3 separate regions of the Homo sapiens genome follow, and all the other regions are linked to region 3. The links are contacts of gene promoters, found by promoter capture Hi-C in blood cells and fetal thymus (Javierre and others, 2016). All regions are on one chromosome and are shown on one strand. The core of a region is centred on a gene start or on the middle of the fragment in contact, and the rest is flanking DNA. Distances in the headings are between cores, read along the strand shown. Region 1 overlaps MAPK1IP1L (mitogen-activated protein kinase 1 interacting protein 1 like). Region 2 overlaps SOCS4 (suppressor of cytokine signaling 4). Region 3 holds the start of ATG14 (autophagy related 14).

The links. The method cuts DNA at HindIII sites, captures the fragments that hold promoters and counts their contacts. A CHiCAGO score of 5 or more calls a contact.
Region 1: a contact is called between a fragment that was not itself captured here and the fragment with the promoter of ATG14 in region 3, in 1 of 17 cell types (naive CD8 T cells). The highest score is 5.0, in naive CD8 T cells.
Region 2: a contact is called between a fragment that was not itself captured here and the fragment with the promoter of ATG14 in region 3, in 1 of 17 cell types (erythroblasts). The highest score is 5.3, in erythroblasts.

The regions. Positions count from the first base shown.
Region 1 is chr14:55,061,697-55,064,833 of GRCh38, forward strand. It overlaps MAPK1IP1L (mitogen-activated protein kinase 1 interacting protein 1 like), which reads left to right. Exons shown (of 4, transcript NM_144578.4): 2 at 1-5; 3 at 922-1,629; 4 at 2,920-3,137. The coding sequence ends at 2,931. Among named protein-coding and RNA genes, the nearest start is that of MAPK1IP1L, 12 kb to the left of the region's middle. The HindIII fragment of the contact is 6,604 bases long and covers 1-3,137 here.
Region 2 is chr14:55,030,451-55,033,541 of GRCh38, forward strand. SOCS4 (suppressor of cytokine signaling 4) reads left to right here. Exons shown (of 3, transcript NM_199421.2): 2 at 1,413-1,541. Among named protein-coding and RNA genes, the nearest start is that of SOCS4, 4.8 kb to the left of the region's middle. The HindIII fragment of the contact is 947 bases long and covers 859-1,805 here.
Region 3 is chr14:55,410,017-55,413,267 of GRCh38, forward strand. It overlaps ATG14 (autophagy related 14), which reads right to left and starts at 1,814. Exons shown (of 10, transcript NM_014924.5): 1 at 1,586-1,814. The coding sequence starts at 1,806. It also overlaps a transcript of FBXO34 not described here. RefSeq lists a silencer at 1,804-2,103. The HindIII fragment of the contact is 5,042 bases long and covers 1,230-3,251 here.

The DNA.
Region 1 (3,137 bases), core at 83-2,582, 350 kb before region 3:
TTTCGGTAAGTTGATCAGTTTATCTGTGATAAGTTTTTCATCTCTTAAGAAAAACAACATGGTCCTAACTGGGCTACGTAAATCTTTTCACTTAAAAGAGATGCTTTAACCAGGCATGGTGGTGTGCACCTGTAGTCCTAGCTACTTGGGAGGATCCCTTGACCCCAAGAGTTTCAGGCTGCAGTGAGCCATGATTGTGCCATTGCACTCCTGCCTGGGTGACAGAGTGAGACTCTGTCTATAAATAAATAAAAGAGATGCTTTTTGTGATTCTTGGCTTTGGGGGTAGTAAAGAGATTTTGATAGGTGATTTGCCTTAGTTTACTGAGATAATAGCATGTTTGGAAATGTTTCCTGTATTTATGAAAATATGTATTTCTTTAAATGAAAATTTAAGATGTTACTTCTGTTGTTCTCTTTTACCCTGATAGTATTAATAGCCAACATTTATTAGAAATTATTATATACCAGGCACTCTGTGAAAGTGTACTACATGAAATATCATATTTAAGCCTCAAGTTAACCCTAAAACAGTTTTGAAACTGAAGAGGCTCTATCTCAGAGTATGTAGCTCCTTTGAGGTTAAGCCAGGATTCAAATCCATATCTTGACTGTTAGTTCTATCTTCTTAATTACTGTATTTTGTTGTATTAATACAGCAGAGAAATGAAGCACAATATGATTAGTTGTATTTAGAAAACGAGTTTCTCTGAAGAATTTGCACTGTAAAGTTGATACGCAAAGTAGCATCTCAAGGTTTATGTTAAATAGAGTATTTTTTAAATGACTAGCTTAGCTTTTGAAGATATTCTTGAGGTTTATAATCCCTGCCCCTATAGGTTACTATTCTCTGTGGGTTTATAATGGTGTTCGATGTAACTTTTCCCTAGATAGGAAAGACGTATCTGTTTTGTGTTCCAGTTGGCAGATGCACTACCTGAACACTCCCCTGCCAAAACCTCTGCTGTGAGCAATACAAAACCTGGCCAACCTCCTCAAGGCTGGCCAGGCTCCAACCCTTGGAATAATCCGAGTGCTCCATCTTCAGTGCCATCTGGACTCCCACCAAGTGCAACACCCTCCACTGTGCCTTTTGGACCAGCACCAACAGGAATGTATCCCTCCGTGCCTCCCACCGGACCACCTCCAGGACCCCCAGCACCCTTTCCTCCTTCCGGACCATCATGTCCCCCACCTGGTGGTCCTTATCCAGCCCCAACTGTGCCGGGCCCTGGCCCCACAGGGCCATATCCTACACCAAATATGCCCTTTCCAGAGCTACCCAGACCATATGGTGCACCCACAGATCCAGCTGCAGCTGGTCCTTTAGGTCCATGGGGATCCATGTCTTCTGGACCTTGGGCGCCAGGAATGGGAGGGCAGTATCCTACCCCTAATATGCCATATCCATCTCCAGGCCCATATCCCGCTCCTCCTCCTCCCCAAGCCCCTGGGGCAGCACCACCTGTTCCATGGGGCACCGTTCCACCAGGAGCCTGGGGACCACCAGCACCATATCCTGCCCCTACAGGATCGTATCCCACACCAGGACTCTATCCTACTCCCAGTAATCCTTTCCAAGTGCCTTCAGGACCTTCTGGTGCTCCACCAATGCCTGGTGGCCCCCATGTGAGTGTTCAATTTGTTATTTAAAGTGTACTAATTGTACATAGCACAACTGACATTGTTTCTCCCCAGTTTTGGATGGAAGATTAAGAAGGCTTTTAAGTTTTTAAAAGAGGGTGTGTGTATATTAAATAAGTAAATTTCAAACCTTCAGGTAAAGCATTTAAAAGGATGAAAGCACTGTTTTAAGTATTCCTTGTGCTAAAAAGAAGAATTTTCCAAAGATCCCCAAAGACTTTGTAATGTAGTAAGCAGTGTCCTCAATAGCATCCTTTAGGTAAACTCTGAGATTCATTTCATTGGGCTTTTTGTTTTATTATTATTATTTCTCAGTATTGTTTTATAGCATCACACCAAAGTACAGTTCAGTAAAAGCAGTCTCTACCTGTCTAGCTTGATAGAGGTAGATTTTTAGAGAATCCAAGGCAATGAGTAGGTAATGTTCATCTTTCAAGCAGTTCTCGAGCTCAAGATTACACCCCTATTCTTTATTGTCAGTTACATGTAATGCTTTATGCTTTACTGTCAGACAACCCAGTGTGGGGTTAACATCTTAGTTGAGGAGCCTGCCTTGGTCATATAACCAAATGGAAAAGTACCCCACTTCCCCTGTGAGGTAAGCCAAACGAGTATCCAAACGCAGAGTAAAGATTTTCCTTAGGAAAAAAAATCTGTTAACTCTTTTTTTTTTTTTTTTTTTTTTTTTTTTTTGAGACAGTCTTGCTCTGTCACCCAGGCAAGAGTGCAGTCTCTCGGCTCGCTGCAATCTCTACCTCTCAGGTTCAAGCGATTCTCCTGAGTAGCTGGGATTACAGGCGTGTGCCACCACACCGGCTCATTTTTGTATTTTTAGTAGAGATGGAGTTTCACCATGTTGGCCAGGCTGGTCTTGAACTCCTGACCTCAAGTGATCCGCCTGCTTCAGCCTCCCAAAGTGCTGGGATTACAGGCCTGAGCCACCATGCCCAGCCAGGAAAAAAAAAAAATCTGTTAACTCTTAGTACGAAAATAACTAGCCAGATCTCTGATTAGATTAGTCAAACATCCAATCCAGCTATAAAGGAAAAGAAATCTTTAAAGTACCCCTAAAACTTCCTCCTTGCATTAGTGTAATTTCTTTCTTGCTATATATATTATCTAAAAATATTTGTTTTGCAAAGTGTATGCCAGAGTAAATGATGTGACTTGCTGTTTGGATTTATTAAGCAATAAATTTACTTTAAGCCACAGTAAGGAGTTAATAAACTCCATTTGCAAAATCTAGAAGTTGACTTTTTCTTTTTTCTATTGCAGTCTTACCATTAAGTTAACAATGGACGAAGAGATGACGCTTTGCTTTTTGAAGTACATGTATATGCACATGAATGCATATATAAAAATTGCTGGTTTCACTATTAGAGGGCATTCATGAAAGAACAACTCTTGCACCTCTCAGAGAAGATAACTGCCTCTTGTACTTGGATGCGTAGTACATCATATGTATACAATCAGATAAAAGCATAGAAGTAAAT
Region 2 (3,091 bases), core at 82-2,581, 380 kb before region 3:
ATTTCTGAGGCACGTTTTTGTGCAGATTTTCTAGCCTTACATATAGCCTTTGTTTCCCCTCCCCTTTTTCTTAAAAAAATAGTGTTCTTTAAAAAAAGTGTTCCCACCTCTCATTTTTAGAAATGTACTTCTTCTAACATGAAAAGTTCTGAGTAATACTAGGAAGCAGTTAATATTTCTTTTCATTAAGTTCAGTGTATGTTGTTTTCATACCTTTTACTCCTGGCAGTAAAAACATGAGGTAGCTGGCATTATCCAGATTTTACAGTGGGAGAACTTAAGCTAAATTAGATTTTTTTAAACCAGGTAACATACCTAGTGAGTGGAAAAGTCTGAATTGTAGCCCACATTTGACAGTTCAGCAGCTCATGCTATTTCATCTTCACCATGTTTATTTTCAAATATGGTATAGTGAAAAACAGTGTAGGTTGTTAATTTTTTACAGATCTTTAAAACTTTAAAATTTTCTCTTTATGCTTAATTGGTCTCACAAGAAAAAAGAATTCAAGGAAATAAGCCAAAATGTCAAAATTGCTTGCTTTTAAATAATGGAATTATAGCTTTTTTCCCCCTCCTTTTTAAACTTTTCTGAATGGTCCATGTATTATACAATGAGCATATATTGTTTTTATCATAACAAATTACAGATTGGAAGAAAAAATAAATCTGTTCAATCTAATTTATTCCATAAAATGGTTCAGTATTATATCTTAAATATTCTGTTTCTTAAATTCTGTTAATCTTCCTTCTGCTTTTAGAAGTTCAGGTACTGCCAGCTCGTAGTTTCTGCTTTCTTCACTCTAGATTAGCCCCTTCAGTGATGGGTTCCTAGACCTCTCTCCTTATCTTTAGCTAATAAGCTTAGGGAATGTACACTGATGTTAACAGATTAGCCCATTAATGTTTCCCCAAACTTTCTTCCACAAAAGGATTTATGGCAAAGTAAAGACAGGAAGCTATGGTTTATGCAGATTTCTTTACTGAAGGATCTCCTGGGAACGTTTGCTAAATATGCACTGTAATCTTTGAGAGAAGAAGCATTTCCCAAACTTATTTGACAAGAGAACCTTTTTTTCTCCAGAATATGTGTTAACATCTTTCAGAACTAGTGTCCACAAGAGTACAGAGTGGGGAAAAGTGACATAAGCAAACTATAATTAGGAAAGCATGGAAAAAGTGGGGAGAAAGGGAAAGGAGGGTGTAGTGCTACTAAATCAATGATTCTTTTTTAGAAAATTGCAATTAAGTCCCATGAGCCCTGGCTCAGTAGCATGAAAAAAGGAGATACTTTAAAATATTTACTGGAAAATGAACCTGTATTGCTTCTGTAATGAGAAAACATTTGTTTTTTAGGTCAGATATTTTCCCATACAAACAAACCTGTTTTCAGATTTTTTTCTTAACATTCCAAGGAGTTCATCTGTTGTCTGCTCTCCAGTGACTTCCGTTTGTGGAGCCTAAGTGTTTCTACAGAATCCAACTCAAATATCAAGGACTATGATCAGAATGCTTTCAAGGAGTTTTTGGGCACATGATGGCAGGTAAACTTTGGAATCATGAATTTCGTAGGGAAAGTCCCCAGGCTTAATTACTACCAGAATAATAATATATTTGTGAATTATTAATGTAGTATACTGAATTATTCTTTATAGGATCAAATGTATTCCAATTTAGTATTTACATTAGTTGTGGTGTTAGATGTATGTCAGCATCATAGACATAAGTAGTTCAATGAATAATTAACGTATGCAATAATGCTGTTATCCTACATCATAGAGGATACTAATTAATTTCCAGATAAATGAAGCTTATCCTTTTAATTATTGGATTTGAATTGTTTCCTGTAGAAATTTTGAATTAAAATCACCTTCTCAGCCTTAGTCAGTATTACTAAATGTTATTTAAATATTTTGTAATGAAAATTGACATAATGGGCACTCATTTTGTTATTGTTGTCATTGTAATTTGTGGTAGAACCTGGGACCAAATAGTGGCAGAATCTGGGTACTTGTTTTCTTGAGAAGGCTTTTATATAAACTTGCTTTTTAAACATTTGCTTTTTGCTCATTAAGAAATATGACTTAAAAAAAAAAAGATGTCATTCTGTACTCCCCAGGGCAATGTAACATAGCTGCCTTCGTAAAAAATTAATTATTGAATCAAGAGCCAAAGCAGCCTTTTCCCAAGTGATTCTTTCACCTTCTTTTTAAAAAGCTTTTTTGCAGCTACAGTCAAAGATCTTTGATTTGTCACCATCTTTCAAACCATCATCTTTGATTTCTGTGTCACATGAAATTGTTGGTAAAGCCACCTTATTATTATTCTACCTCATGTATACAAAGTTTTTTTTTTTCTTTTGAGACGGAGTCTCACCCAGGTTAGAGTGCAGAGGCACGATCTCAGCTCACTGCAAGGTCCGCCTCCTGGGTTCATGCCATTCTCCTGCCTCAGCCTCCCGAGTAGCTGGGACTAGAGGCGCCTGCCACCACACCCGGCTAATTTTTTGTATTTTTAGTAGAGATGGGGTTTCACCGTGTTAGTCAGGATGGTCTCGATCTCCTGACCTCGTGATCCACCCACCTAGGCCTCCCAAAGTGCTGGGATTACAGGTGTGAGCCACCGCGCCCGGCCCTATACAAAGTTTTTATAAAATTTTAAGAATTAATGATAGGCTATCTGGAACAACTTGTTCGGATTCAGAACCCTACACTTTTTTTTTACATTCAGATTTTACATGTATGGACAAGATACGAAAGCACAATTTCAAAAAACTAATCTTTAGTCTTCATAACAATAAAAATAATTTTTCTCTCACTAAAATTAAGTTATTTTTATTGAAAGCAACATGATTGATTTTTTTATATTTTAGAATTTTGGTTCAAAGAAGCTTCTGGAAGAGATTAGAAAATTCTCTTTATATGTGTTTAAGTATAAAGATATGAAAGTTTGATAGACTTCTCTCATTTTTTTGTAACAGAATCAAATAATGGTGAAAGAAATTCTAAATATCTTTTTTCTGATAAGATCTCTCCATAGCACACAGTTATTTTTTAAGCAGTTACTTTCTCAGTAATTGTTAAGATGTTACCTA
Region 3 (3,251 bases), core at 564-3,063:
GATGGGATTTGTTGATGGGACTAAACAGAGTTGGGTTAAGAGAGGAGTCAAGGAGAACTGAAAGGTTTTTTAGCCTGAACCAAAGGAACAATGAGATTGACATTTACTGGGTTGGGATGAGCATGGGAAAACAGATTTATGATGGAAAACAAGGAGTTCAGTTTGCCATATTAAAATGAAGATATCTATTACAAATCTAAAAATATTGATGTTGAATAAGCAGCTGTTTTCTGGACTTTAGAGAAGACTAGGTTGGAGATACAAGTCTGGCAGTCTTAAGCATATAGATGGTATTTAAATTATGTGAATAGACATAGTAAAACGTGTAGACAGACAAGAAGGTCCAGAACCAAATCCTCGATTCACTCCATCAGTTAGACATTTCCATCTCATACCCCGTATTCTTATAACTGGTTTAATTTTTAAAGCTATCACTTACTACATAAGCAGTTTCTAAAGTCATCAAGAGCACCAATAAGACACAGCAACAAAACTAAAAAAGAGTTTGTCATTCAAACCTCCTCAAAAGAGAAAGGAAAGAACTCCATCCACGATCACAGAAATACTAAGAACTCAAAACATTCCCAAATATAGAGGATATAAAGTCTAGTGGTTAAGTGCGGGTACATAGGTCCAAGCTGTCTGAATTTTAATTCTTGTACCAACACTTAACTATTTGTGTGACCTGGGGCAAAGCACTTACTGTGCAGCTTCCTAATAAGTTGGGGATAAGTCATTCGGTTGTTGCGAATGAATTAATACCTGAATTTTTGTGCTCAGAATGCTAGCTATCTTACTATCATTGACTATCATTGACACTAAATTGTTGAAACATAAGTTGAGAGTGGGAGATCCTGCAGCTAATCACACTAATTTTTCAATTTTCTTAACCAAGAACTTGTAGCTGTTTAGATTTCGAAATGAAACCAAAACATTTTCCTAAAGGCAATTCTCTTAACTAAAAGCATGCAGCTCCCAATCTGAATTTTAAAACAAGGCCAAAACACGTTCCCAAATTCCTAAGAATCTAAAATAATCTTTAGAGGCAGGGAGGGGAAAGGGGCGTTAACAGCAAGCCTCAATTCACACATTAGAGTAAGCATGTCTGATAACAAAGTCCATCTGTGACAGACTACCAGGCCCAAATCCCTCTAAAGCAGTTATTTGATTCTCTTCTACTCTCTCCTCTAGAGAATGAGTATAAATATGCTTTCGAAAATAGAAAGCCAAGCTTTTGAATGGGAGTACATACAGCAAAGAGCTGGGAATCTAACTTAATGGCAGCAACGGGAAAACTTCTCCAGAGAGTCACCACTTATTCCTTTTTTCCCCAGTGACCAAGAGCACCGTGGGGTCAAACTCCTCTTGGGTGGGTGATGGGGAAACGGCGACCTTCCCTCATCTGGCCCCTACGCTGTCCTCTGGTAGCAAAGCTCCGGTGCAGAGCAGCTAGCTACACTCCCTCTCTCTCGCTCCTCTCGCTGGTATCTGGTGCCCGGACGGGGAGCCCCAGGTTCCAGCCTTCGGCTGCCTGGCTGGAGGACACACAGCAGAAGAAACAATAGGGCCGTGGCGGCCGCCGTACCTCTCCCGGTCGCGGCCGTCGAAGTAGACGAAATCGCCGCTCTGAACGCATTTGGCGCAGGTCAGCCGCCGGCGGGTAGTGTTGCACAGCGGGCAGCGCTCCACAGCCACGTACAGCCCCTCCGCATCGTCCACGGAGTCCACCAGGTCCCGGGCGAGCGGCCGGGGCCCGCAGCCAGGAGCCTCCAGCGCCCGGGCTCCCTTCCCACTGGGAGACGCCATGATGGCCTGAGAGGAGAGCCAGTCACGTGGGATTTTGTTTTCAACCGGGTGCATTCTGGGCCAGGAGGAGGGGCCTGGGGAAGGGGGGCTGGGATGCCGGCGAGCCCCCGGACCCCTCCGCCGCCGCGTGTTCCTGTCCCGGGCACTGTTGTTTTTCCGGTCTGCTGAGGGGCAACAGGTCCCGAAGCAGGGGGAGAGTTATATTAGAGGGGCTAGTCGGCCAAACAAAATGTCATCTGCTGGCTCAGGCCAAGACTACGAGTTAAAGCCTCAAACTTGTGCAGAAAATTGTAATACCATACCCTAAGGATTCTGGGAAAACGGAATGGGAGCGGAATAAGGGAATTTAACTTGCTGTGGATGCTTTAAAATCTGGCTAAACTACAGCAAACAAAGTAGGGTGAAGGGGCTGGGTCTTGGAACTAGGTTGAATTTTGGCTCACTCACCTGCTTAATAGCTGTGTGACTTGGGGCAAGTTCCTTAATCTCTCTGCGCCTGTTCTCTCGTGTTAAATGGATAGAATTATAGTACCCATCTAATGCCGTGAGGATTAATATGGTTAATAGTATTATACTTTACCAATAGTGAAAACAACCAAAGTGAACGTGCAAAATCAGAATTGTATCCTTCTGAAAAGTTAATCACGTGGCTAACGTACCTTCCCTACCCTGGGCCATGCTCTAAGAGAATTTGAACTAGGTAGATGGTTAGGACTTCCCTTCAAGTTTCTTTTGGTGGATAGGGGATATATAAGGTGATGTGTTGGGAGGATCATATCAGAGTAATTAGTGTTTGAATATGCCTCTAAACTACAGAGAAAAGTGAGTTTATAGGTGAGATTAAATAGACCAGTGATTCTCAAGGATGATTTTACTAGGCTATCTACTGATAAACTGCCCTGAATTCTCTCTCTAGCCAGGATTCCTTTCTCAAGTTCCATACCCAAAGATCCAGAACTACTTACTAGGTATCAGGTGACATTCCAGGACACCACAAACTCAAAGTGTTGGAAACTGACTTCTGCCTCCCTACAAACCTGTTTTCTTACTTTGGTAAAGGACGTAATCACTGATGATTTACAGCCAAGAGCCATGATTCATATTAGCCCGTCCCTCCCTGTTAATCTCCACATCACCATCGAAAACTGGTGATTCTACAAGCTAATTAGGTCTTGAATCTGAGCCCTTTGCTCCTCCGTCTTCTTAATCTTACCCAGTCTTTTTAAATACAAATCACGTAGGATTACAAAAACAAGCAAAAGCAAAAATTCTCTATATTCAGAATACAGTTTACACTAAACTTGAATGGTTCCTGAAAGTTTAAGATTTATTTTTAAGTGAGAAGTCTTTCTCTCTGATCATTTCAAACAAAAGGATTATTTTTTAAGGTCTCGGGCTTATGTTTCATTTGTATTCAGACAGGATCCTTCACAGTGCTTAATACC